6 separate regions of the Homo sapiens genome follow, and all the other regions are linked to region 4. Evidence: promoter capture Hi-C in 16 types of primary human blood cells and fetal thymus (Javierre and others, 2016). All regions are on one chromosome and are shown on one strand. The core of a region is centred on a gene start or on the middle of the fragment in contact, and the rest is flanking DNA. Distances in the headings are between cores, read along the strand shown. Region 1 overlaps LOC105375546 (a long non-coding RNA gene). Region 2 has its middle 15 kb from the start of TAS2R39. Region 3 has its middle 5.3 kb from the start of TAS2R39. Region 4 holds the start of OR9A2 (olfactory receptor family 9 subfamily A member 2). Region 5 holds the start of GSTK1 (glutathione S-transferase kappa 1). Region 6 has its middle 7.2 kb from the start of TAS2R40.

Region 1 (4,098 bases), core at 1,267-3,766, 220 kb before region 4:
TTCCTCCATTTCTCCCTGCCCTCCATCCCCACTGATCTGGTGTCTGTCATGATAGATTATCTTATAAATATATATTTTTGTACATTAAAAGTTTTTGTGCTCCAATATAAACTTGAGAAGCCAGAGTCATTGTTTCACATTGTCACATTTGGGAGGCAGCCTCCTGAAGATTACAGTGGAGGAGCTTTATCAGGGATTGATTTTATGATCAACACCTGTGGAGAGGAAGTGATGGGATGGGAAGAGAAGGGAAGAAAATGAGAGAGTCAGGCAGAGGGAAAGGTTGGCTGTGGTGCTGTGATGCTGTCTCAGCAAAGGACCCTGTCAGTTCTACAAGGAATTCTGAGATTGTACTGAGTTCCGGTGAGTTGGCTGGGACTTTACATCCCCTTATGAGCTAGTCTCAGGTTATGCGCTGCCCTGGGAAGGGGCCCTGACCTTGGCTGAGGTGACTCTTCAGCTCAGGGCTGACAGCTGAAGGCTGCTGGCAGCACCTCACCTGCTTGGGTTTATGTCTAAGGGAGCCTGTGCAGAACATCGGTGTCCCCAGTGCAATAATCCTGGTATTTCTCCCATTCTGAGCCGTTCTTTGAAAACACAGTTGTTAGAGAAACAAAGTTGAAATGTGGGAAGGGAAGGGATATGGAAATATTTTCAGAGACTCTTCTTTTTTTAAAAGAATTTGAAAGGATAGTGAGAACAATCCTTAAATTCATGTCAGAAAAGAGGATTCATTTGTTCATTAATTCACACGTTTATTCATTTCACTAGTGCAGGATTTCTTAACCTCAGCATATTGACACATTGGAATGGATAATTATTGGTTGTGGGGGCTGTTGTGTTTATTGTAAAAATGTTTTTGTAACATTTCTGGCCTCTACCCACTGGATGCCACTAGGTGCCCAGGTGTGACCACCAAATATTATGCTAAATGAAAGAAGATGGATGCAAAGTACTATGTGTTATACAATTTCATTTGCATAACATTTTCAGAATAGACAGGAAGCAAATCAGTGGTTTCTCCTAAGGCTGGCAGTGAGAGTGGGGATTGACTGAACATTGGCATGAGGGAACTTTTAAGGTGACAAAATTGCCAAGTGTTTCCTGGTGGCATCAAAATCACCCTGGTTGCAAACCTGCACTGGTGTCTATTGAGTGTCTCCTCTGCCTCATGCACTGTTCTGAGTGCTTGGGGTTATAAGCACTCCATCTGATGTGGGAGTCAAAAGGCAAAACATCAATTGGCAAATTCAATACAAAGTGTGTTTTGTGTGTGCGTGTGTGTGTGTGTGTTGAGGGAAGGAGTGTTAAGGATGTTGAGAAAGAATCAGGGAATGCTTCTCAGAGGAAGTAACCCTAAATGAAGACTTGAACTGTAGGTAGGAAGTAAGTAGACCGTGGATAGCACTGTAGTCAGGGTTGCAATTATAGAATACAATAGACTGCATAGCTTATAAACAGCAGACATTTATTTCTGGTAGGTCTGGAGGCTGGGAAGTCCAAGATCAAGGAGCTGGCAGATATGGTGTCTGATGAGGGCTCACTTTCTGGCTCACAAATGGCCATCTCCTCCCTGTGTCCTCATGTGGTAGAAAGGACAGGGAACTCTCTGGGTCCCTTTCATAAGGCCACCCACCCGATTTATGAGGGCTCCACCCTCATGACCTAATCATTTTCCAAAGCCCCCACTTCCTAATACCATCACCTTGGGGGTTAGGATTCTAACCTATGAGTTTTGTGGGGACACACACATTCAGCCAATAGCAGAGAGGAAGAGCAGATAGATATTCCATACAGAGCCAGCAACATTATGGAAAAGCCCATTGTCTGGAGTCTTGAGGAACTGAGAGAAATTCTCTTTAGCTGAAGGATTTGAAGGAGGGCAATGGTGAGAGATGAGGCTGGAGCTACGGCAGGTAGAGGCAAGGCAAAGTCATGTGACAAGATTTACAATCTCTCCTGGAATAACCTCAAGCTTAGTGTGATCTTAAAAACGTATTTTATAGAAAAGAAGTAATTTCATTGCCTAAGTACTCAGAATTGCTTCCTGTTGGTGTAGAAAAACATACAGGAACTGTTAGTAATTTACTCTTGCGATGAATCACACAGCCACATTTATTTTTATTGTTTGGCAAACACACATGTAGCTTACTACATCAGTCACTCTTCTAAGTACTTTATAAATATTAACTAATTTAATCCTTTTAACAACCCTACAAGGTAAGTACCATTTTTTAGCAACTTGATATATTTGCCATAAAGATCACCCATTGTAAGTGTACCATTCAATAGTTTTTAGTATATTTATACAGTTGTGCAACCATCACTACAATTCAGCCTTAGAATGTTTTCATCATCTCAAAGTCTTTTCTTTTTTTCTTTGGTGCTTGCTACTTTGTAGTCAATCCTGGTTGAGAACCTGCACTCAATCCCACTCCCACCCCCTAAGAAACCACGGATCTTCTTTTTGTCTTTATAGATTTGTCCTTTCTGGAAATTTCATATAAATGGAATCATGCAATACGTAGTTTTTTTTTTTGCATCTGACTTTTTTCTACTTAGCATAATGTTCTTGAAGTTCATCTATGCTGTAGCATGTATTTATAGTTTTAAACATTTTATTGCTGAATAGTATTCCATTGTATGGATGTAACACATTGTTGATGGTCATTTGGATTGTTTCAGGTTGTTGTCCATTATGAATAGTGCTGCTGTAAATATTTGCATTCAAGTCTTGGCATAGACATGTGTGTTCTTTTGGATAGATACCTAGGAGTGGAATTACTAGGTCTAATGGTAAGTCTATGTTTAACTTTTTAAGAAATGGACAAACTGTTCTTCAAAGTGGCTATTTAGGTAGATACTATCATCATCATTTCCCTTTTATTGAAGGTGAAACTTCTACAGTGTCATAAAGCCTGTGAATGGTGGCAGTAGGAATTGAACTTATGCCATTCACCACGAACCTCTGTGACCTTAACACTAAACTTTGATGGCTACTTCCTTTGTTTAAACTGTCATCAGTTTCAAAAAAAGATAATAAATAAATAAAGCTTGCCTTCTTTCCCTTACCTGATCTTGGTTTCAAAACTGCTAGAGAATACGTTGTCTAGTTCTGTCCATGGAATTATGCCTGCGGGAATTTCCGTGATGTTCTTTTCCTTCTTTGCTTCTAAGATGATTCCCTAGGCAAATCTCAGGCCACTCAAGTATTTTCATTTTCACGTCCTTTCTGTGAGAAACATGAACAAACCTAGGGAGTGTTTTGAAAATGAGATTTTTAAACTCTCCAGTGACAAAGTCCTCTTTCCTGGACCAATAACTACCTTCAAAATAACATTCTAGCTACTGACTTAGTCTGTGTGGCTGGTGGATTTCTTTTTAATACAGCAGCTGGTAGGCTACAAAGCACGTGTCAGTGACAATGCATGGGCTGCCTGTCAGGAGCTCCCGAGCCAATTGCTCAGAGGACCCTTCACCTCTGGCTGGCAATTGCTTCTTTCTGATGTTAAAGGTCACCACAGCAATCACCTACTACTGCTCTCAAGATTTGATGTGATCACAACACTCTCTGCATCTTCACTTTGCCAAGGATTACAAAAGAATGAGGCAGCCCACTGTCTAACATGTTCGGAGCAAACTAGTAAGGAGAGGCACTGTGGGGCTTTTAGGTTAACATACACATGATTGATGATATGCAGGAAGGATTGTTCTTGAAGAGATAGGAACTACCTAGAGCAAAGACTCAAGCATACTTAAGGCGACAGCAAGATTCCTCTGGGGTCTTTGAGTTCTGGTAATACATTCTTAGGGCCTGGATATTTTCTATCTAGGTGCTATTATTCTGGGAATGTAACTTGCCAAAAATCATGTAAACTAGTAAAAGGCAGAACTGCGATCTTAACCCAGCTTCCAAATCTTAAGCCCTAAACCATACTGCCTGCCAAGACTCCTATTCTCCCTAATTCCTTTGTGAGCTTCCAGGCTAAGTGTTCCACTTTTATATTCTCATGCCATCTGTGTTTTCTCTTATCATGGACCTTACCATATTACGTTGAAGTCATCAGTATCCTCCACCATGCTCTGTTTCTGCAGGGA
Region 2 (4,331 bases), core at 1,016-3,515, 140 kb before region 4:
GGACAAGGCACTAATGATTGCTCCAAGGCTTCTTACTGTACACACCTGCAACTCCAACCTTGGGGAATCTCTTGGAGTGCAAGACCATACTTCTACTCTTTGTTTCTGTGAGATTGACTATTTTAGTTACCTCCTGTAAGTGGAATCTTGCAGTATTTGTACTTCTATGCCTGGCTTATTTCATTTAGCAAAATATTCTCCTGGTTACAGGTTCACTCGTGGGTTTTTTTTTTTTTTCCTTTTTTCTGGAGATGGAGTCTCACTTTGTCGCCCAGGCTGGAGTGCAGTGGTGCAATCGTGGCTCACTGCAACCTCCGCCTCCCAGCTCAAGTAATTCTCCTGCTTCAGCCTCCCGAGTAGCTGGGATTACAGGTGTGCACTACCACGCCTGGCTAATTTTTTGTATTTTTAGTAGAGACAAGGTCTCACCATATTGGCCAGCCTGGACTTGAATTCCCAACCTCAGTTGATCCGCCTGTCTTGGCTTTCCAAAATGCTGGGATTACAGGCATGAACAACATGCCTGGCCAGTATTTCCTTTTTTTTTTTCAAGGCTGAATAATATCCCATTATGATATTACATATATACGAATATATATGAACATTCCATAATATTCCATATATATATATATAAATTTCTTTATGACATATAAAGAAATTGTTGAGAGTTTTATTATAATTTCTTTACCCATTTGTCCATTGGTTGTTTCTATATCCTAACTAATTATTGTGAATAATGCTGCAGTGAACATGGAAGTGCAGTGCTGGTATCTCTTCAAGATTTTGATTTCACTTTTTTGGATACATATGCAGAAATGAGATTGCTGGATCATATAGTGGTTCTATTTTTATTTTAAGGAAGCATCGTGCTGTTTTTCATAGCAGCTTTACCATTTTACCTTCTCAACAACAGTGTACAGCATTCCAATATCACCTCCTCCTCCCCAGCACTTATCTTCCTTTTTTAAAATCATAACCACTATAACAGGTGTGAAATGACATTTCATTGTGGTTTTGATTTGCATTTCCCTGATGATTAGTTATGTTAAACACCTTTTCATATGCCTGTTAGGCATTTGTATGTCTTCTCTGGAGAAATAGCAATTCAACTCTTTTCTCTATTTTTTATTTATTTATTTATTTATTTTTAGATGGAGTCTTGCTCTGTTGCCAGGCTGGAGTGAAGTGGCGCAATCTCGGCTCACTGCAACCTCTGCCTCCCGGGTTCAAGTGATTCTTCTGCCTCAGCCTCCTGAGTAGGTGGTACTACAGGCGCCCGCCACCACTCCCAGCTAATTTTTTGCTTTTTTTTTTTCTTCAGTAGAGACAGGGTTTCACCATATTGGCCAGGATGGTCTCAATCTCTTGACCTCATGATCCACCCTCCTCGGCCTCCCAAAGTGCTGGGATTACAGGAGTGAGCCACCGCACCTGGCCCATTTTGTAATTTTTATTTATTTATTTACTTACTTATTGCTATTGAGTTGTAGGGGTTTCTTATATTTTTCGGATATTAAACCCTTATCAGACATATGATTTGCAACTATTTTCTCCTATCCCACAGGTCGCCTTTCAGTTCTGTTGACTATTTCCTTTGCTATCGAGAAATTTATAGTTTGATAAAAACTCTCAACAAACTGGGTATAGGAGGATTTTTTCTCAACATAATAAAGGTCATGTATGACAAACCTGCAGCTAGTATTATACGCAGCAGTGAAAAACAGAAAGCTTTTCCTCTAAGATCGGGAACAAGATAAAGATGCCCCCTCTCATCACTTCCATTCAACATAGTGCTTGATATGGTTTGGATTTGTGTCCCCACCTGAATCTAATGTTGAATTAGAGGAGGGACCTGGTGCGAGGTGAATGGACCATGGGTAGGGATTTCCCCCTTGCTGTTCTCCTGATAGTGAGTGAGTTCTCACGAGATCTGATGGCTTAAAAGTGTGTAGCTCTCTCCTAGCTCTCTCCTGCCACCATGTGAAGAAGGTCCTTGCTTCCCCTTCACCTTCTGCCATGATTGTAAGTTTCCTGAGATCCCCCAAGTCATGCTTCCTGTAAAGTCTGCAGAACAGTGAGTCAATTAAACCTATTTTCTTCATAAATTACCCAGTCTCAGATAGGTCTTTATAGCAATGTGAAAATGGATTAATACAGTACTGGAAGTTCTAACAAGGTCAATTAGGCAAGAAAAAGAAATACAAAGCATGTAAATCAAATCACAAGGCATTCAAATGAAATCAGAAAAGAAGAAGTAAAAGTATCTTTGCTCATAGATGACATGATACTGTGTGTAGAAAATCCCAAAGACACTTCCAAAAAACTTAGAATGAATAAACAAATTCATTAAAGTTACAGGATACAAAATTCACCTATGAAAATTTGTTGAGTTTCTATATACTAACAATGAACCACCTGAAAAGGAAATTAAGAAAACAATTCCGTTTACAAAAGCATCAAAGACAATAAAATAGAAATAAACCAAACCAAGAAGGTAAAGGACATACACACACACCAAAACATTGATGAATAAAACTAAAGAAGACACAAATAAATGGAAAAACATCCTGTGTTCATGGATTGGAAGACTTAGTGTTGTTAAAATATCCATACTATCCAAAGCAATATATGGATTCAAGCTATCCCCATTCAACCCCAATGGCATTTTTAATAAAAATAGAGAAAATGATCTAAAAATTTATATGGAAACACAAAAGATCCCAAACAGCCAAAGTGATCTTGAGAAAGAACAAAGCTGAAGGTATCATACTTCGTGATTTCAAAATATATTACAAAGCTTCAGTAATTAAAACTACATGATATTGGCATAAAGATATACACATAGACCAATGTAACAGGATAGAGAACCCAGACATAAACCTACTCAGGTATGGTCAACTGATCTGTGACATGGGCACCAAGAATACATAATGGATAAAGGATAGTCTCTTCAACACATTGTGTTGAGAAAATTGAATGTTCATAGGCAAAAGAATAAAACTGAAATATTATTTTACACCATACACAAAAATCAACTCAAAGTAGGTTAAAATACATTAAAGATTTAAACATAAGACATGAAACTATAGAACTCCTAGAAGAAAACACAGAGAAGAAACTTCTTGATATAGGCATTAACAACAATTTCTTAGATAAGACAAGAAAAGCACAGCAACAAAAACAAAAATAGACAAGCAGGGATATATTGAACTAAAAAAACCTTAACTTTGGATAGGTTGGAATGAGGTATCTGTAGTGTTTTATTAAAACATGGATAATTATAAGTAAGAATAATTATAAGGGTTGGGGCACTGGATGACTGCTGTGATTGGTTATAGAAACCCAGAAGAAGGCCAGGTGCGGTGGCTCACACCTGCAATCCCAGCAGTTTGGGAGGCTGAGGCAGGCGGATCACAAGATCAAGAGATTGAGACCATCCTGGCCAACATGGCAAAACCCCATCTCTACTAAAAATACAAAAATCAGCGGGGTGTGGTGGCACATGCCTGTAGTCCCAGCTACTCAGGAGGCTGAGGCAGGAGAATCGCTTAAACCTGGGAGGCGGAGGTTACGGTGAGCCAAGATCATGCCACTGCACTCCAGCCTGGCAACAGAGTGAGACTCTGTCTCAAAAAAAAAAAAAAAAATGAAAGAAAGAAAAAAAGAAACCCAGAAGAAATGACAGAGTCAGATATGTCAATGATCAACTCAAAATATAGTTTCAAAGTCAGAAGGTCTTCAAGGCAGTTTAAAAAATTCTCACCTCTTGCAATTTTCAGTACACCTACAGAAAATCAGTGATACTAAGGCCTAAGATTTCATAGTAATGGTGGCATATTTAAAAAGGATTGAATTCACAGCCTTAGCAAAGATTCCTGTGATAAAGTTAGGACCTTTGTGAGAACTAAATGTATTCTAGGGATTGGGATTAGGAGATTTGGATAGACGCACATAAGAACGTTGAATCTCCAGGTTCCCTGAATCTTTAAAGTTTGCTAGAAAAGAGCAAACTTTCTTTGCATGGAGAACATGCATAGACCTCATCTGAGATAATGTTTTACCTTGTTCTTGAAATTTGCCCATGTCTTTCAACCCATTGATTTTAGACAATCGCTAGGGCCAAGTATCAGTGTGACCAAAGAAAGGAAGGACTATCCCTGTAATGGAAAGGAAAAGATGACTCACCAAAGTGCTGGCTAAATTTTATTAACAGGAATGAGGTGAAGATGCCTGGGAATGGATTTTGACTATTTTGAATCATAGAAAACACAATAAAAGATTAATTAGAGGGGGGCGGTTCCAAGATGACTGAATAGGAACAGCTCCAGTCT
Region 3 (4,535 bases), core at 308-2,807, 160 kb before region 4:
CTCAGAGTAGTTCTTATTTCTATTTCTCTTGTAGTAAATCAGGCTGAGCATCCTTTAAATTTTTTAAACAAACTTCTGAAAGCAACTTAATGAATTGGAAAAATCATCTAAATGTTATATGAAAACAAAAGATTACAAAAACTTTAGTATGAACCCAGTTTTGTTAAACTACACACACACACACACACACACACACACACACACAGACACACACGCTTTAAAAGTTGTCTCTGGGTTGAAGGATAATGGATGATTTTTAATTTTAATTTTTAAATACCTTTTCACATTTTATAAGCTTTTAATTTCTTAAAAGCCACCTTTATTTCATTTTCTCTAACTATCAGTTCATATCCTTTGCCAATTTTTAACTTCAGTAATTGTTCTTATTGATTTGTATGAGCTCTTAATATATTCAGAAAATTAATCTTTATCTGGAATGTGAGTGGCAAATATTATTTCCCAGTTTCTTGTTTGTCTTTGACTTTGCTTAGGTAGTTTTTGCCATGTAGTATCTTTTTACTTTATGTAACCAGATTAAATAAATCATTTTATGCTTGTTTTTTCACTTATCATGGTTAGAAGGGTCTTCTCAACTCTAAAATTAACTTTGAAATCTCCAAAATTTCTTCTAATATTTAATAGTTCCTTTTTTAAATAAAAACATGAATTATTTGATTTATTTGGCCTAGTATAAGATGTGAGAGAGACATCCAAAATTTTTTTCCACTTTGCTAGCTAGTTGTTCTAACATAATTTATTGAATAATCCATTATTCCTTTACTAATACCACTTTTACCATATACTAAATTCTCATTTTTCTGGATGTCTACTCTGTTTTATTGAGTATTGATTTCCACTGTCACACTATTTTGTGTTTTTCAGCTTCATAACATGTGTGTTATTTCATGGGGTTAGTCCTCCCTCATTACTTTTTCATTTTCAGAATGTTTCTGGCCATTCTTGCTTCATTTTTTCCAGATTATGTTTATTATCTGTCTAAAAAATTTTTGGCATTTGTGTCAAATTACAGTAAATGTAGATTCATTTAGGGAAATGTTGTATCTGATGACATTGACATTTTCCACTCAATAGCATGGTAGCCTTTCTCCTGTTCAAGTCTTCTGTGTGTATATCTGAAGCATTTAAAAGTAGTCTTCATATAGATTGTGATATGGACAGGAGGCAGCGAAATATTAGGTAGAAAAGGGCGGGTCCTTCTTGAAGCCCCACCCTCAAGCCTGGACTCACAGCCCAAAGTGAGAACATGCATTTCTGTTTTCCCGCTTAAATGTTGCCTCTTCCAAATTACCCTGGCCTGCTCCACCCCCGCCCCCCACATCCTGTGCCCATAAAAACCCCAGGCTCCACTAGCAGCAGAGCATCAGAGGAGAGAAGAGAAAAAGCAGCTTAACATTGGCAAGAAGCAGCTTGACTTCAGAGGGTCGGCTTGATAGCTGGACCTTGGAGAAGAGATGGCCTAACTCCAGAGGAAGACCCCCTTCCTGCTCTATCCACTTCCAAGCCCTTCATCCCACTGAGAACCACTTTTATCAGCAATAAAATCCCCTGCATTTACCATGTTCAGTTTGTTCCTGCGACCTGATTCTTCCTGGATGCCCAACAAGAGCTTGAGATACAGAGGGCTATCACACTGAGCTGTTAAACACTAAAGCCGTACATGGATAGCAAAGCTATAAGAGCACAGTAACACATGCCCTCTGGGGCTCCAGGGGTCATGGGTACCCCGCTGGATGCTGCTGTGGGGCCGCAAGGAGTTCTGCTCCTGCCGGCATCCAGAACTCCTCCTGGTCCCTGCACCCACTCACCTGCATGCCTCCCCTCCTACAAAGGATTTGAGAGCTGCAGGCTGAATAAACGAGCAACTCCCTTTGTGAGGCCTATGAAGGGGTCAGGGAAAATTTCCTGTTTCAGTCGTGCTCATTTTTTGTTAACTTTATTGCTCTAGTATCTTATTTTTTGTTGCTGTTTATTTTTTTCCTTCCATATTTCATGCTTTTGTTATTTAGAATAATATTTTAGTTGCTTCTCTTGGGTTTTTTATTTATATAACCATCTGCAGATAAGATACTCCACCAGGAAACTTCCAATTTTTTAAAATCCTTTAAATTAATTTCACTTCTTCTAGTTGTACTGGATACTTATCTAGGGTTAACATCAGTTAATAGGGTGAGGGTAAACATCTTTGTCTTTTTACCTGAATTTAATGGAAATAATAATGTTTTCTCATTAAGAATGATGCTAGCTGTTAAATTAGCCAGGCACGGTGGTTCATGTCTGTAATCCCAGCCACTTGGGAGGCTGAGGCAGGAGAATTGCTTGAACCTGGGAGACAGAGGTTTGCAGTGAGCCAAGACTGTGCCATCGCACTGCACTCCAGCCTGGACAACAGAGTGAGACTCCGTCTAAAAAAAAAAAAAAGAATGATGCTTGCTAGCTATTAAGAGATAGATATATTTTATCATGTTAGGAAATCATCTATTTTTATTGTAAGATTTTTTAATAATTAGGAATGGTTCTTGAATTTTATTTTTCAGCACTTAACATTATTATATGATTTGTCTCTTTAGTATTATTAATATGGTTAATTATATTGATATGTTTTCTAATATTAAACCATCTTTACTTTTATGAAATAAACCTGTATTCTAGATTTAAATTTAATACTAAATCTTATTTAGTATTTTTGTATAAACACTGATAAGTGAGGTGAGGTTTATTTGTAGTTTTCTGGGAGACAATTTTTGTTAGGTTTTGATATCTAAATTATATTTATTTCACAAAACAAATTTGGAAGCTTCCTTTAACTTTTGTGCTGTGAAACAATTTACATAGACTTCATATTATTTGCTTTTAAAAAGTTGATAGAATTCCCTTGTGAACATCTGGTGCCAGCATTATTTGAGGAGTGGCTCTTCACAACTTTCTCTAGCTCAACTGTGATGATTATTCTGCTTAGATTTTCTTGAAGTCAATTTTAGTAAATTATATTTTTCTAGGAACATCTATCTTATCTACGTTTTCAAACTCTAGCATAGAGTTAAACAAAATAGTTTCTTAAAAGTACTGCAATTTCTCTGATTTGTAGTTATTTTTCTTTCATGTCTTATTTTGTGTATTTATGCCTTTTTTCTTTCTTGATTATGTAAGCTAATGATGCCAATTTTACTGCCTCTTTTCAATGAACCAGTTTTGTATCCGTTTTAACTTTTTTATATTTTATTTATCAAATCAATATTTAATATGTTCTGATTTCCTTAGATTTATTTCGTAATTATCCTAAATGTTTGGTTTATATTTATAATTTTTTATTTTTATAATTTTGTTTTATTTTTAGTTAACATGTAGTAATTGTACATATTAATAGGACCCAGTGATATTTGGGTACATGTATACCATGTGGGATGATCAAATCTGAGTAATCTGCATATCTATCACTTCAAACATTTCTTTGTGTTGGAAACATTCAAAATCCTCTCTTCTAGCAATTTGAAAATACACAGTAAATTATTGTTAACTATAAGTCACCCTACAGTGCTACTCTAGAACTTATTCCTCTATCTAGATTTATATATATATATATATATATATATATATATATATATATATATATATATATATTTTTTTTTTTTTTTTTCTGAGATGGAGTTTTGCTCTTTTGCCTAGGCTGGAGTGTAGTGGTGTGATCTTCGCTCACTGCAACCTCTGCCTTCTGGTTTCAAGCGATTCTCCTGCCTCAGCCTCCTGAGTAGCTGGGATTACAGGCACCCACCACCACGCCTGGCTAATTTTTGTATTTTTAGTAGAGACAGGGTTTCACCATGTTGGCCAGGCTGGTCTCGAACCCCTGACCTCGTGATCCACCCGCCTCAGCCTCCCAAAGTGCTGGGATTACAGGCGTGAGCCACGGCGCCTGGCCTAGATTTATATTTTTAACAATTACCTCTTTATATCTTATTTACTCATTTAGGCCTTTCCTGACTGGGCTGATCTAACACCACCACCATGATGTGCTATTCATTCTAGGTTTTATTACCAATGCTTTCCCACTAGACTAGAAGATCCATGATGACAAGAGCCCTGTTCATTGTATACATAGCAACTGGAATAGAATATGCCATATAGTTGGTGTTCAGCCAATACTTGTTCAACTAATAACTGAATGATCCTCTACTTATACACGTCACAGGACAGAAACATGGGACTTACTGATGAGTTGCATGAAGTGAGTAAGACAGAAGACACATCCATGGTGGTTCCTAGCATTCTGACTTCACCAGTGGAAATAATGTGGCACTATTTAATGAGTTGGAGAAAACTGAAAAGGAAATGTGTTTCAAGGGGAAAATTAAGAATCCAAGTTTGCATGTTCTACTTTTGAGCGACCACTCACATAGATGTTTCAACATAGTTTTTATATTCTAAAAGATATTTTAAAATGAATTTTTAAAATTTGGCAGTCGACTTTTTAGCGCTGACATTCAAGGATCATCGGATGTTTAAGGAAAGACTCGATC
Region 4 (4,336 bases), core at 967-3,466:
GTGCATGGCTCAGCACTAGCAGGACAGGAGGTAGCCTCAGCGGAGCCCTAGAGAACATCAGAAGAGGCGGCGAAGCCCCTCTGTAAAGGTGAGTGTCTTTCCAAGGGGTCTCCTCTATGAAGAAGAGGGTAAAAGCATTTTAGGATGGGACATCCTGGGCCTGCCTATCTTCTAGAACAAAGTCACCCAGATATTGAAGTGTGGGCTAGGGGAGCAGTAGAGTGTATAGGCTCATCTCCAGACCCTTCCTGCATAGCAGAGAGCACTTCCGGCTCCTCTTGGACCCAATGCTAACACAGTCACGGCTCCCTGACAGTCGGTGTCCTTCTCGCTCATGTTTCTTCATCTCGTGCTGGTTATGCAGAGGTTGTGGAAAACCAGAACACTGAGCTTTCCCATCAATTCTGTCCCTGAAGCTTTTTAAACCATTAGTAAAACAGTGACGTAGACAGGGAAGGGGTTACCTAAGCAAGGGAAGGGCAGGAGGGAAAATGGTAATGTGAGGCAGGAAGGAAAACCAACCAGAATAGGATTGAGGGAATGTGGCCCAGGCCCTGGCCAGAACAAGTATTATTTAATCATATATTATCCATCCATCCATCCATACCTCATCTAGCAAAATTTGTCAGCACTACTTATTTTATGTATATGATACATATATCTTATGTATTTAAATATCTTATAAATAAAAAATATATGTATATTTTATATAATATAAGATATATTTCATATATCTTATTTCATATATCTTATATAAATAAGATAAATAATATAAGATAATAATATAATATAAGGTGTGGTAGTTAGCTGTGTGAGTGATGAAATCTGACAGACCTAGGTTCAAATCTTGACTCACACAGCTATTAGTTCGGTTACCTTGTGATAAATTAATACATAATTTAATATATAAGATATATCTATGATATATTCATTTCACATAATGTATCTGTCTATATCTATATAAAAGATATATGATATATATATATAAAATATATAACTACTTAATTTATGTATGTACATTTTATGTGCCAGCCTCAGAATACAACAGTGAAGACATGTCCTAGCCCTCATGGAGTTTATATTCTAATGCCGTTGATAAATAATAAATACACTTAAATTTCCTCTCCTTCTTTCTTGCTTATTTTTTTCCCTGTGACATGATAAGCAAACTAAACTATTGCATATTTTACTTAGGTGTCTTGTGTGTGGTCTAGCCCCCACCTCTTCCTTGAATATAAGCTCCACAGGGCATGGAATTTTCTTTGTTCTGTTCATGACTACATTTGTTTATTGTTAAATAAAGGAATGAAGTAAATAATTAGACATAATACAAGGTAATAACAACTGTTATTAAAAAAATGGAAGTCCAATAATAAGTGTGTCTTTTCTGTTTTGGGCAGAGTGATTGGAAAGAGTCTTTGGAAAGGGTGACATTTGAATAATGGAATGAAGCGACAGGCAGAGAGCCAGGCATCCTTAACAGCTGGCGGTCCCAGATCTATTCCTTTTCTGTGCCAGGTGCCATCTTTCCTTCCTCCCACAACTTTGGAAGGAAAATGGAATTAGAGAAGAATGGATCTGTTCTGGGAAATTATCCCAAGCTCTAGAGTTCTCATTTAGAGATCTTGCTGTTCTGTAAAATGGAGATTTTAAAATCTGGAACAGCAGAGATGTTAGTCTTACATCCTCTGCCTCCTTTCTGCTGGCCCCAAAGGTGGGTCTATGCATTACCATTACAGATGAGAGCTGGGGTTTAAAATTCTGTCCTTTGAACATCATATAAAATGCCTTTGTGTCATCTTGCACAGTTAACCTAAGAGAAAGTAACTCCAGGACCGGAGGGACCTGATTGACTCACCTTTAAAACTGGCCTATTTAAAAGGTCTTAGCCTCTGCCCCCGAGAGAAGGTATATTTAATGGGGAAAAAGGCAAGGAAGGTATTTCACCACCAGTAGAAGAAGATGTCTTCACCCATTCTAGGGGGCTGGTTACACAGGGAAGTGAGAGCCTCACTTGTAGACTTGGGATGACAACATGTACCTCAAGCTATGTATGTGCCGACCACAGTAGCAGGGACATGTCACCTGATTCTCAGGTTGGAAATAGTTTCTTAACCTAATTTTTCTTCCTTCTCTCTTGAGAGCAGGACCATGTGGAGCAATGCCACCTCTCTTTTAATCTCTGGGCTTCAAAACAAGCAGAATCAAGGACTAAATGATGGACAACCACTCTAGTGCCACTGAATTCCACCTTCTAGGCTTCCCTGGGTCCCAAGGACTACACCACATTCTTTTTGCTATATTCTTTTTCTTCTATTTAGTGACATTAATGGGAAACACGGTCATCATTGTGATTGTCTGTGTGGATAAACGTCTGCAGTCCCCCATGTATTTCTTCCTCAGCCACCTCTCTACCCTGGAGATCCTGGTCACAACCATAATTGTCCCCATGATGCTTTGGGGATTGCTCTTCCTGGGATGCAGACAGTATCTTTCTCTACATGTATCGCTCAACTTTTCCTGTGGGACCATGGAGTTTGCATTACTTGGAGTGATGGCTGTGGACCGTTATGTGGCTGTGTGTAACCCTTTGAGGTACAACATCATTATGAACAGCAGTACCTGTATTTGGGTGGTAATAGTGTCATGGGTGTTTGGATTTCTTTCTGAAATCTGGCCCATCTATGCCACATTTCAGTTTACCTTCCGCAAATCAAATTCATTAGACCATTTTTACTGTGACCGAGGGCAATTGCTCAAACTGTCCTGCGATAACACTCTTCTCACAGAGTTTATCCTTTTCTTAATGGCTGTTTTTATTCTCATTGGTTCTTTGATCCCTACGATTGTCTCCTACACCTACATTATCTCCACCATCCTCAAGATCCCGTCAGCCTCTGGCCGGAGGAAAGCCTTCTCCACTTTTGCCTCCCACTTCACCTGTGTTGTGATTGGCTATGGCAGCTGCTTGTTTCTCTACGTGAAACCCAAGCAAACACAGGGAGTTGAGTACAATAAGATAGTTTCCCTGTTGGTTTCTGTGTTAACCCCCTTCCTGAATCCTTTCATCTTTACTCTTCGGAATGACAAAGTCAAAGAGGCCCTCCGAGATGGGATGAAACGCTGCTGTCAACTCCTGAAAGATTAGCTGTTCTGTAAGTCAGTTTTAGGTGGTCCAAGCCTCAGGGTTAATTATTAAGTCACCTAGAAAATTCTAACTCCTCTTTTCTCTTATCCTCTCATTACAAAAGTCAAAGAGTGTGTACAATTCGCCATCACACCATGGAAGTAGATTAGGCTGGTAATAATGAAATCCATTGTCTGTCCAGGAGACTCTCATAGCCTTAGTTCCTGCCTGTTTCCACTGTTGAACATATTCTTGTGATTTGGGGGGGACTAGAGAAAGGAAATGCAGACATTTTTGTAAGAATTCTATTAGCCCAACTCATTTCCTCATAGTCCATCTCTGAAAATGTATTTTCTGGGGAAGGGAGGAAGTGTGGAGGGAGGTGTACTGAGAAAGGTGTCCTAATCAGAGTAGAAAGGTAGAGATGCTCACTTTGGTCCTTCATCACCTGTTGCTAAGTTCTTCCCTATATTTTTGTGCAATTTTTTGGCAAGATGGCCATATGCATTTTAGATATCCTAAAGCTCTTTCTCTCTGCCCCATTGATACTGGAAAGGAAGTGTAACACTGTTTACGTTTTGTCACAGAACCAGTCTAGAATGGCGATATGAGGATTGGAATGCTTCTCATTCAGGAGATATTTGTGGTGTAAAGAAGATAAAAATATTTGAGGATAAAAATGGAGGAAAATTTATTTTTGTTAAGCTTCAGCATATTCCTTTCACTGCCCTTCTTTGTGGTGAGTATAGGGACAGGGGCAAATAAGAACTAAATGACTAATTCTAGAGAGCATCCTGTATTTTATGGCTGTTAAACACAACTATGTCTGTTCAGACTGTATCCAGATCTAGACTTCAAACTTTATAATGTCTTTTGATTCTCCGTCTCTCAAATCCAACAGTCTCAGTACCATCATGTGTATCTTCTCTGTGGGCAGAATTTTTTAAAAATAAGAGGCCATTCTTTTGACTCCCGGCTTTCTAGAAATTATAGGGATTGGCTGTTTGGTAGTGTAACTGTTGGAATTTCACATAATATTGGAAGAAGTCCTTATAAGGAAGAAGTTTACCTAAACAACAACAATCAGCAGATTCTACCAGCCCTAAAGTAAGTGAGAAAATTGAGCTGTTCAGCAGTGGGATGATGAGGCTACTGAGAATTTTGAAGAGTACTGTGTGAGGATGCCAGGTTGTCTTGTCCTGTGAGGAG
Region 5 (4,480 bases), core at 326-2,825, 240 kb before region 4:
GGAAACGCATGGCAGACAAACTTCCTGTGGGGCAGAGGCACCCAGAGGCAGGGCTCCTCTTGCTGCTTTCCTGGTGGAGGACTAGCTCTTCCTTGCTTCTGACATCCCCCAGAGCTCCTCCGCCCTCAGCCTCTCACCCAAGGTTCCCATGACCTATTTGCCTGCTCTTCTTCCCTTTCATGCCCGGCAACCTTCAGCTCGCTCAAGGCTGATCCTGAGGTTTCCCAAGGCAGGCTTCACTTGCTTTAGTCTCCCGCAGCCCCTCCATCCTATCAATCCCTCAATCTCCGACTTCTGTGTTTTTCACTGGATACCCTGTCTACATCCCACTCTCTTCACCTTTTTCAAGCATCACAGACAAGAAATCCTTGGGGAAGTGGATGGGAATCTGGAGATGGTGTCTCAGGAGCTTTAAGTCATTTGCCATGTATAGTCCTTTGCGGGGAAGCAGACCTGGAGGCTTGTTTCCTGCCAGGAGAAGGTTGGGCACGCTAAGTGAGAAAAGACCTAAGGGTCCCAGGTTTGGGGACCTCGACGTGGGTTTTGGGCAGAGGGCAGCTTCCTTTTTTTTCTCTTGTTGTTTCGCTCTTGTTGCCCAGGCTGGAGTGCAATGGTGCGATCTCAGCTCACCGCAACCTCCGCCTCCTGGGTTCAAGCGATTCTCCCGCCTCAGCCTCCCGAGTAGCTGTGGTATACAGGCATGCACTACCACGCCCGGCTAATTTTGTATTTTTAGTAGAGACGGGGCAGAGGGCAGCTTTCTGGCTGCCAGTGCCAATATAAGGACCCGCTGGGGTCGGCTCTCTTGGGCCACTGAGATCACCCCTGCCCCGACCCTCCCTTCCTACCACTGTCTTTCATGATCCCTGTTATGAGGCTGGGCCGCAACTGCAGGTTGATGTTCCAGATATTCTGATACCGGCACAGGATCTGCGGGCAGAGGTCAAGAACGATTGCCAGTGTGCAAGATGGAAAAGTGAAAGAGCCGAGGGAAAGGGAAGGGAGGCGCTAAGTGCAGAGCAGGGGTTATGCGGACACCCTACATTGTTTGGTTTGAAATTGGCAAAACTCTCCTCACTACTAGAAATCTATTCCAGGATCTTCGCTCCTGTGGCCAGTTTTCCCCAAAACTGCCATCGTTGGGCTAAGAGGTGGCCGTGTTCTGCATTTCTCCCTGAATGTTTGGAGCCGCCCCTCTTTCCACCACCGTGGGAAACTGCAGTCGGGATATAAAGGCTCGGGTTGGAGCCAGCGACTCTATTCCGTTTAAAAGCACAAAGTGACCTTCAGCCCCGGAGCTCTCCCTGCTTGCCTTAACCCCTTGGGCGGCGCCAGGAGTTACACGAGACCTCTGTCCCGGAGCCCTGCGCTCACTCTTCCCTCCGCCCTCACTCCCCAGACACTGCCGAGGCGACCCCTCCCAGCGTCACCTCGAAGCCCAGCCAGGAGTAGGGGGACAGCACGTCATAGAAGAGCTCCACGGTGCGCGGCAGGGGCCCCATGCTGCAGGCTCCGGAAGAGCAGTGGCAGCAGGAGCTCCTTTTCCCGGAACCCGGCAGAGGCTGCCCAGCTTCTGGGCCTGCCTGGGACCGCCCACCGCCTTAGCGCGCAGCCTCAGAGAGAAACTGCCCTGGTAGAGGTCCACCTCCGGCGCAGCGGGGCAGGGCCAGCCTACGGCCCCCAGCCAGGGGCGGGGTGGGTAGGGACCCCTTGGGGAGCGCGCAGGTGTGGACAAGGGGCGCTGCAATCGCCTTTGCAAAAATTTTAACAGTGAGAAAATTACGAAGGTGAAACAGATCTGAACTCACCAACTCCATCGTGCCTTTAACCTCCAAACTGCCCTTGGTCATTCCTGAGCATGGGACGAGCTAATATAGGGAGAAATTTAGTTTATAGTTTAAATGATAATAGCCCTTCCCCAAACTAAACCAGTTTTATAAAACTAATAAAAGTCCACAAGTTTAGGATTATGAGAGGGGCCTGAATTCTGCTAAGATGTAGGCATTAACAATTACCAGACATTGTTCCAGAGGTCACAAGCTCTGCAACTTCCCCAATTATTCCTGTAAATAACCACTTTTGTAGAACCTAAGACTGGCCTTTGAAGATACCTTCTCAGACTTTTCCATTTCTAATGACAGGATGACTCCACCTGGACCAGTGACTCCTCTGTGGCCCGCATCCAAATGCAACTCGGTGCACTGAGGACGGTTTTCCACACCCCTGTGATTGCATCCCCAACCAATTAGCAGCACCCATTCTCTAGCCCCTTGCCCATCAAACTATCATTAAAAAACTCTAGCCGGCGGGCATGGTGGCTCACGCCTGTAATCCCAGCACTTTGGGAGGCTGAGGTGGGTGGATCACTTGAGGTCAGGAGTTCAAGACCACTCTGGCCCACATGGTGAAACCCTGTCTCTACTAAAAATGCAAAAATTAGCCGGGCATGGTGGCATGTGCCTGTAATCCCAGTTACTCGGGGGGCTGAGTCAGGAGAATTGCTTGAATCCGGGAGGCAGAGGTTGCAGTGAGCCGAGATCATGCCACTGCACTCCAGCCTGGGTGACATAGCAAGACTCCCTCTCAAAAGAAAAACAAAAACAAAAACAAAAAAACCCACAAAGTCCCCTAGCCTCTGCCTCCGAATTTTGGGAGGCTAATTTGAGTAATAATAAAACTCTGGTCTCCTGTTTAGCTGGCTCTATGTGTATTAAACTCTTTCTCTATTGCAATTCCCTTGTCTTGATAAATTAGCCCCATCTGGGTAATGGGCAAGATGAACCCATTGGGCTGGTGTCAGGGTGACTGTCCTGCTCTGCAGTGGAGTCTTGTGGGAAGGGGGTAGTTTGAGATGCCTGCAGTGCCTTTCACTTAGCTGTGCCCCTTGGGTGAGCCACTTGACCTCTCTGAACCTATTTCCTCATCCTGCATACACATGGGGAATATCTAATGATAACACCTGCCTTATGACGAGTTGTGAGGAATGAGGTACTCCAATAACTGCTAGCTCTTATTATTGTTGCTTGGCAGTTGCATGAATCTCCTAAACTGGGGCAGAATAAGAAGTTCTCAGAGTACACATTTTCTTGTGTTACCTTTGTCAGAGATTTGCACAATGTCTGGGACACATTTGACCATCGATACATATATTTTGAGTGAGTGAAAAAAAAGAGGGACTGGTAGAAGATGGAGAGGCCTCACTATAGATAATTTTGGTGATAATGGAAACGATTGGCCCTATTCGTTTTCACAAATATGTGAGTCATATTGTCTTATATTGGGATTACATTTACTGCAAAGAAACAGAATTTTAAAATAATTCCATTTAACTTTGTTAAAATTATTTTTAACATTACTAATTTAATAAATTGGAAAACATATAAAGATTCCACTTTTCATTTGTATCAATAAGGAAAACAACTCCAGGCTATCAGAATACAGAGATACGAGGTAAACCCCTACATGGAGAAGAGCATGCAAAATGGAATGAAAAATGATGTTATCATTACCTACTTGCAGAGTAAACTAATTGTTCAACAACCACTGAAACTAAACTTTTTTTTTTTTTGAGATGGAGTCTTGTTCTGTTGCCCAGGCTGGAGTGCAGTAGCACAATTGCAGCTCACTGCAACCTCTGCCTCCTGGGTTCAAGCAATTCTCTCTGCCTCAGCCTCCCAAGTAGCTGGGATTACAGGTGCCCACCACCACGCCCAGCTAATTTTTTGTGTGTTTTTGGTAGAGATGGGCTTTCACTATGTTGGCCAGCCTGGTCTTGAACTCCTGACCTCAGGTGATCCACCCATTTTGGCCTTCCAAAGTGCTGGGATTACAAATGTGAGCCACCACAGCCCACCTTGTTTTTTTTGAGACATGATCTCACTCTCGCTCAGACTGAAGTGCAGTGGTTCAATTTTGGCTCACTGCAACCTCTGCCCCCCAAGCTCAAGCAATTCTCCCACCTTGGCCTCCTGAGTAGCAGGGACTACAGGTGTATGTCACCACACCCAGCTAATTTTTGTTTTTTGTCGAGGTGGGGTTTCACCATGCTTCCCAGTCTGGTCTTGAATTCCTGGGCTCAAGTGATCCTCCCACCTCGGCCTCCCAAACTGCTGGGATTACAGGCATGAGCCACCATGCCCAGCTACATTTTTGTTTTTCTCCAGTAATCATAATTTTAAAGTGTCCAAGAGCTAATTCAGCGTGGTAATTTAAGGTTTCATTTCAAAGGTAGATCAATCACTTATTTTAAAAAGCTTTTTATATTTGGAAATGTTTTAGATTTATAGAAGACTTGTAAAGATAGTACAAGGTTTCTGAATACCCCTCATCCAGCTTTACCTAATGTGAAAATCTTACATAAGTATGATAATGATAAAAACCAATACATTAACATTGGTACATTACTTTTTTTTTTTTTTTTGAGCTGGAGTCTCACTCTGTTACCCAGGCCGGAGTGCAGTGGCGCAATCTTGGCTCACTG
Region 6 (4,343 bases), core at 1,568-4,067, 200 kb before region 4:
AGTCAGAAGGTTTTTGCATAATGAGAAGCCTTTGGAGGATTTTAAGCAGGTGGGGTGTGTGTGTGAATGTGTGTGGTGGTGTGTGTGTGTGTGTGAATGTGTGTGGTGTGTGTGTGAGTGTGTTGGTGTGTGTGAATGTGTGGTGTGTGAATGTGTGGTGTGTGAATGTGTGTGGTGTGTGTGAATGTGAGTGTGTGTTGGTGTGTGTGTGTGAATGTGAATGTGTGTGGTGGTGTGTGTGTGAATATGTGTTGTGTTTGTCAATGTGTGGTGTGTGTGAATGTGTGTGGTGGTGTGCGTGTGAGATGGTGTGTGGTGGTGTTTGTGTGAATGTGAGTGTGGGGTGGTGTGTGTGAATGTGAGTGTGGTGTGTATGAATGTGTGTGTTGGTGTGTGTGAATGTGAGTGTATGTTGGTGTGTGTGTGAATGTGTGTGGTGGTGTGTGTGAATGTGTGTTGGTGCGTGTGTATGGTGTGTGTGAATGTGAGTGTGTTGGTGTGTGTATGTGAATGTGTGTTGGTGTGTGTGTGAATGTGAGTGTGTGTTGGTGTGTGTATGTGAATGTGTGTGTTGGTGTGTGTGAATGTGAGTGTGTGTTGGTGTGTGTGAATGAATGTGTGTGTTGGTGGGTGTGAATGTGTGTGTTGTGTGTGAATGTGAGTGTGGTGTGTGTGAATGTGTGTGTTGGTGTGTGTGAATGTGAGTGTGTGATGTGTGTGAATGTGTGTGTTGGTGTGTGTGTGAATGTGAGTGTGTTGGTGTGTGTGAATGTGTGTGTTGGTGTGTGTGAATGTGAGTGTGTGGGGTGTGTGTGTGAATGTATGTGGTGTGTGAGAATGTATGTGGTGTGTGTGAATGGGAGTATATGTGAGTGTGTGCATGAGGTGTGTGTGAAAGAGTATAAGAGTGTGTGTGTGTGTATGTGCGGTTCAAGTGAATGTGTATAGGTTTCTTGTTCACAAAGTTATGGAATTGGTGTGAATATCATAGCTGAGTTGAAAGGTAATACTTGTTACCTGAATTTAGCCTCAGTCATTTGGGTGGAGCTTAGGGTGACCAACTGTCCCAGGTTATCCAGGACAGAGAGGTTTTCTGGGTTGTGGAACTTTCAGTTTATAAAATCTGAGTGGTTGGTCACCTTAGTGGTGGCAATAGATAAAGGGTACAAATTGTGAGTAGTTGTATGTTTGAAGGGTACTTGGTGGATAAGGAAATAGAAGAAAACTCAGGCAGCTGAATAGATATGGAAGTCAAGGGTGAAGATCTTTAAAACAGAGAGAGTGGCCAACAGTGCCCCACCCTTAAGGGGATCAGAGGCAATGGAGACTCAGGCCACAGGTTTGACTTTTTAAAATATTATTAACTTATTCAGATCAGGACTTACTAGGCATGTTTTTTAGTTATTTAGCCTTCAAAAAAAAATTCTGCCATTGGGTACAATTAATGCCATCAGTGCCAAAAACGTAAATTAGAATATAGACACAAAACTTAGTGAAATAACTCATGAAAGATAAAATATTAGGCAAAGGTGTTTGAATCACTTAACAATTTGATTAGATAACAAAGAGGTTAAGACCATTTCTTGTAGTATTTGGAGATATTTAATTTTTATTATGTTAAGATAAATCTCACATAAATCTTAACAAATCTTAGTTAACTCTTATGAGTAGAGTGTGAGTGTCAGGTGCTATTCCACTGAGCAGTGAGATGAGGGAAGAACGGGCCTATGGGGTCTTGGTGTTTTCCGCAGGTCACATTGCCACTCCCTCCCTGCCAAGCATTTCCATCACTCATGGTCTCAGCTGCACTCAGGGCCGCCAGCCATAATCTACTCTCCAGCTACTGGTTTGAATAAACCACTGATTTATTTGCAGTCCCGAGAGCTGTAGGCAGGAAATGCAAACAGCAGCTTTCCCTCGGGAGGGCTAGATGTAATGGGACCCTTCTCTGTTTTCCATCCTCAGGCTCTGATGGGAATCTCTGAGGAAGCTCAGTGGAAAATTTCTTTTTCTCTCAGCCCTGATTTCTCCTAAATGGCTCAGTAAGACCGAGAGAAAAGGATTTTGTCCTGAGTTATCTGCTCCCCACGGTGAAGGAACTAGGGAAAGAAGATCAGGATTAAAAAATTGTTTTTAGAGGATAGGCGTTTTAATTGTGCACATTTGAGGTTTAGGGTACATTCCTGACTCCACAGTACATAGATGACTACTCAGGAATTTTTCACATTATAATTTAATCCAGTATTCTTTTCTAGCCTGTGTACTCTTGGAGGGTAAAATTTTTGTTGAGTTGATCTTTATTTACTAAAAATGCATTAAGAAATACATTTTTGTTGAATGAATGAATGCACTTATCTTCATATCGTGGTTTACAATTTATTATAGACATATTTTATTTGAGTCTCATAGCAACCATGTGTAGCGGATGTTATGATTATTTCTGCTTTCCAGATGGGGAGACTGAGGCTCAGAAAGGTTTAGTGACTTTCCCAAGATCACACAGAATGGAGACTGAAGTCTAGATCTTTGACACCGAATGTAGATTCTTTCTATACACCACATTTCCCATCATTATTCAATAAACCAGCCTGTTGCTTAGTCATCTAAAAGAACACAAAAATACAAACATTGCCCTGCTGGATCAAATTCACAAGGAGAAAGCACTCAGAAAGCCTAGTGTTCAACCTCAACAGAGATGGTTTGTAGAGGCATGACTATTTCAAACTCATTGTTATCAAGTGAGTAGCTTCAGGGCAATAGCTTTCAAAGCCTTAAGGAGAAACAAAATTTGGGCTCCGTGTCTATCCTTAGCAGGTGGGAGACAGGGGACTAGAACATTAGCTTTCTGTTTATTTTTTTATTTTATTTTTTTACAAAGAGCTAGTGGACTCTATTTTAAAGATTGCACAGGGACAGAGAAAAGCTGGAGAAATTGAAAGTGGCAAAAATATTGGGGAAGTTGCCACGTTCAAAACATGGCAAAAATTCATAAAAAAGGATGAGTTCATGTCCTTTGCAGGGACATGGATGAAGCTGGAAACCATCATTCTCAGCAAACTAACACAGGAACGGAAAACCAAACACCGCATGTTCTCACTCATAAGTGGAAGTTGAACAGTGAGAACACATGGACACAGGGAGGAGAACATCACACACTGGGGCCTGTTGCGGGGTGGGGGGCTGGTGGAGGGATAGCATAAGGAGAAATACCTAATGTAGACGATGTGTTGATGGGTGCAGCAAACCACCATGGCACATGTATACCCATGTAACAAACCTGCACATTCTGCACATGTATTCCAGAACTTAAGGTATAATAAAAAAAAAAAAAGAAAGAAAAAATAACATGGCAAAAGTTGCCACAATAAGTATCCCTGGTTTTGCAATGAAGTGTGACTGGGTCCTGGGGAATGCTGTGCCTTCAGGGGTAGGAGAACATGCCTGAGTGAAGGGTCTGCAACTGCAGCCTGGGGGCAAATCTGACCCACTGATTCTTTTTGTTTTGTATGGCCCACGAGATCAACTAAGCAAAAATTTCACCCTCCAAGAGTGCACAGCTGGGAAAGAATGGACATGGCTGTGCTCCAACAAAATGTCACATCATGAAATATTAATTTTTTAACCATTTAAAAATGCAAGAGGCATTTATTAAAAATGCATTTTTAATGGTTGAAAACATTAAAAGAAGAATAATATTTCATGACACGTGAAAATTATATGATATTCAAATGTCAGTGTCCATAAACAAAATTTTGCTGGAGCACACCCATGTCCATTTATTTATTTTTTGAATCACCATGGTGGCTTTTGTGCTGCAACAGAAGAGTTGAATTCTTCTGGAAGGGACTGCATGTGGCCCACAAATCCTAAAATATTTACTCTCTGGTCCTTTACAGAAAAAGTTTGCTGACCCCTAACCTAGTGCCTGTTAGGTTCAAATCTACACTCAGATAACTGTCGGGCAGCTAAACTGTGGAATACTAGATGTCTTTCATTTCTGACATTGTCAGGAAGTGAACAGGAATCCAATTCTTAAGGCCACCCTACACTTTTCACCTGCCACTTGGATGACTGAACTACTGGATCCATGGCCATGTTCTGCCACCAAGCCTGTGGGACTATAAAGGCTAAGCCTTCTGTGTGCATCTGGCCCAGTCTGGTCTGTCCTTTTCATATCTGGCCTGCTTTAAATATCCTCATTCTAGATGCCTCTCAGTGTCACTCCACTTCCCTTTGGAATACTAACAGCTAACATCTATTGATGGCTTACTCTGGGTCAGATGCTGTGTGCTAAACACTTTACCCCATTCTTCTCTTAGGATGAGATAACCCTAGGAGGCTGG

What was found. Contacts are between HindIII fragments. The CHiCAGO score rates a contact against its expected background, and 5 or more counts as called.
Region 1: a fragment that was not itself captured here is called in contact with the fragment with the promoter of OR9A2 in region 4 in 1 of 17 cell types (naive B cells); the score reaches 5.1 in naive B cells.
Region 2: a fragment that was not itself captured here is called in contact with the fragment with the promoter of OR9A2 in region 4 in 2 of 17 cell types (total B cells and naive B cells); the score reaches 6.9 in total B cells.
Region 3: a contact is called between a fragment that was not itself captured here and the fragment with the promoter of OR9A2 in region 4, in 11 of 17 cell types (naive B cells, total B cells, M1 macrophages and 8 more). The highest score is 13.5, in naive B cells.
Region 5: a contact is called between the fragment with the promoter of GSTK1 here and the fragment with the promoter of OR9A2 in region 4, in 7 of 17 cell types (neutrophils, monocytes, erythroblasts and 4 more). The highest score is 10.7, in neutrophils.
Region 6: a contact is called between a fragment that was not itself captured here and the fragment with the promoter of OR9A2 in region 4, in 5 of 17 cell types (total B cells, naive B cells, monocytes and 2 more). The highest score is 10.2, in total B cells.

The regions. Positions count from the first base shown.
Region 1 is chr7:143,243,251-143,247,348 of GRCh38, reverse strand. LOC105375546 (a long non-coding RNA gene) reads right to left here. Exons shown (of 3, transcript XR_007060569.1): 2 at 3,073-3,232. Among named protein-coding and RNA genes, the nearest start is that of GSTK1, 18 kb to the left of the region's middle. RefSeq lists a silencer at 272-448. The HindIII fragment of the contact is 1,078 bases long and covers 1,978-3,055 here.
Region 2 is chr7:143,166,314-143,170,644 of GRCh38, reverse strand. No RefSeq gene overlaps it. Among named protein-coding and RNA genes, the nearest start is that of TAS2R39, 15 kb to the left of the region's middle. The HindIII fragment of the contact is 1,069 bases long and covers 1,731-2,799 here.
Region 3 is chr7:143,186,465-143,190,999 of GRCh38, reverse strand. No RefSeq gene overlaps it. Among named protein-coding and RNA genes, the nearest start is that of TAS2R39, 5.3 kb to the right of the region's middle. The HindIII fragment of the contact is 2,520 bases long and covers 298-2,817 here.
Region 4 is chr7:143,025,012-143,029,347 of GRCh38, reverse strand. OR9A2 (olfactory receptor family 9 subfamily A member 2) reads left to right here and starts at 2,216. Exons shown (of 1, transcript NM_001001658.1): 1 at 2,216-3,148. The coding sequence starts at 2,216. The coding sequence ends at 3,148. It overlaps LOC105375544 (a long non-coding RNA gene), which reads left to right. Exons shown (of 2, transcript XR_001745395.1): 2 at 1-88. The HindIII fragment of the contact is 3,416 bases long and covers 419-3,834 here.
Region 5 is chr7:143,260,536-143,265,015 of GRCh38, reverse strand. GSTK1 (glutathione S-transferase kappa 1) reads right to left here and starts at 1,575. Exons shown (of 8, transcript NM_015917.3): 1 at 1,431-1,575; 2 at 849-930; 3 at 340-468; 4 at 1-24. The coding sequence starts at 1,502. All of the region lies in intron 2 of TMEM139-AS1 (TMEM139 antisense RNA 1), which reads left to right. It overlaps LOC105375546 (a long non-coding RNA gene), which reads right to left. Exons shown (of 3, transcript XR_007060569.1): 3 at 1,809-1,868. RefSeq lists enhancers at 1,328-1,547, 1,366-1,660 and a silencer at 1,688-1,757. The HindIII fragment of the contact is 19,965 bases long and covers 1-4,255 here.
Region 6 is chr7:143,227,093-143,231,435 of GRCh38, reverse strand. No RefSeq gene overlaps it. Among named protein-coding and RNA genes, the nearest start is that of TAS2R40, 7.2 kb to the right of the region's middle. The HindIII fragment of the contact is 8,703 bases long and covers 1-4,343 here.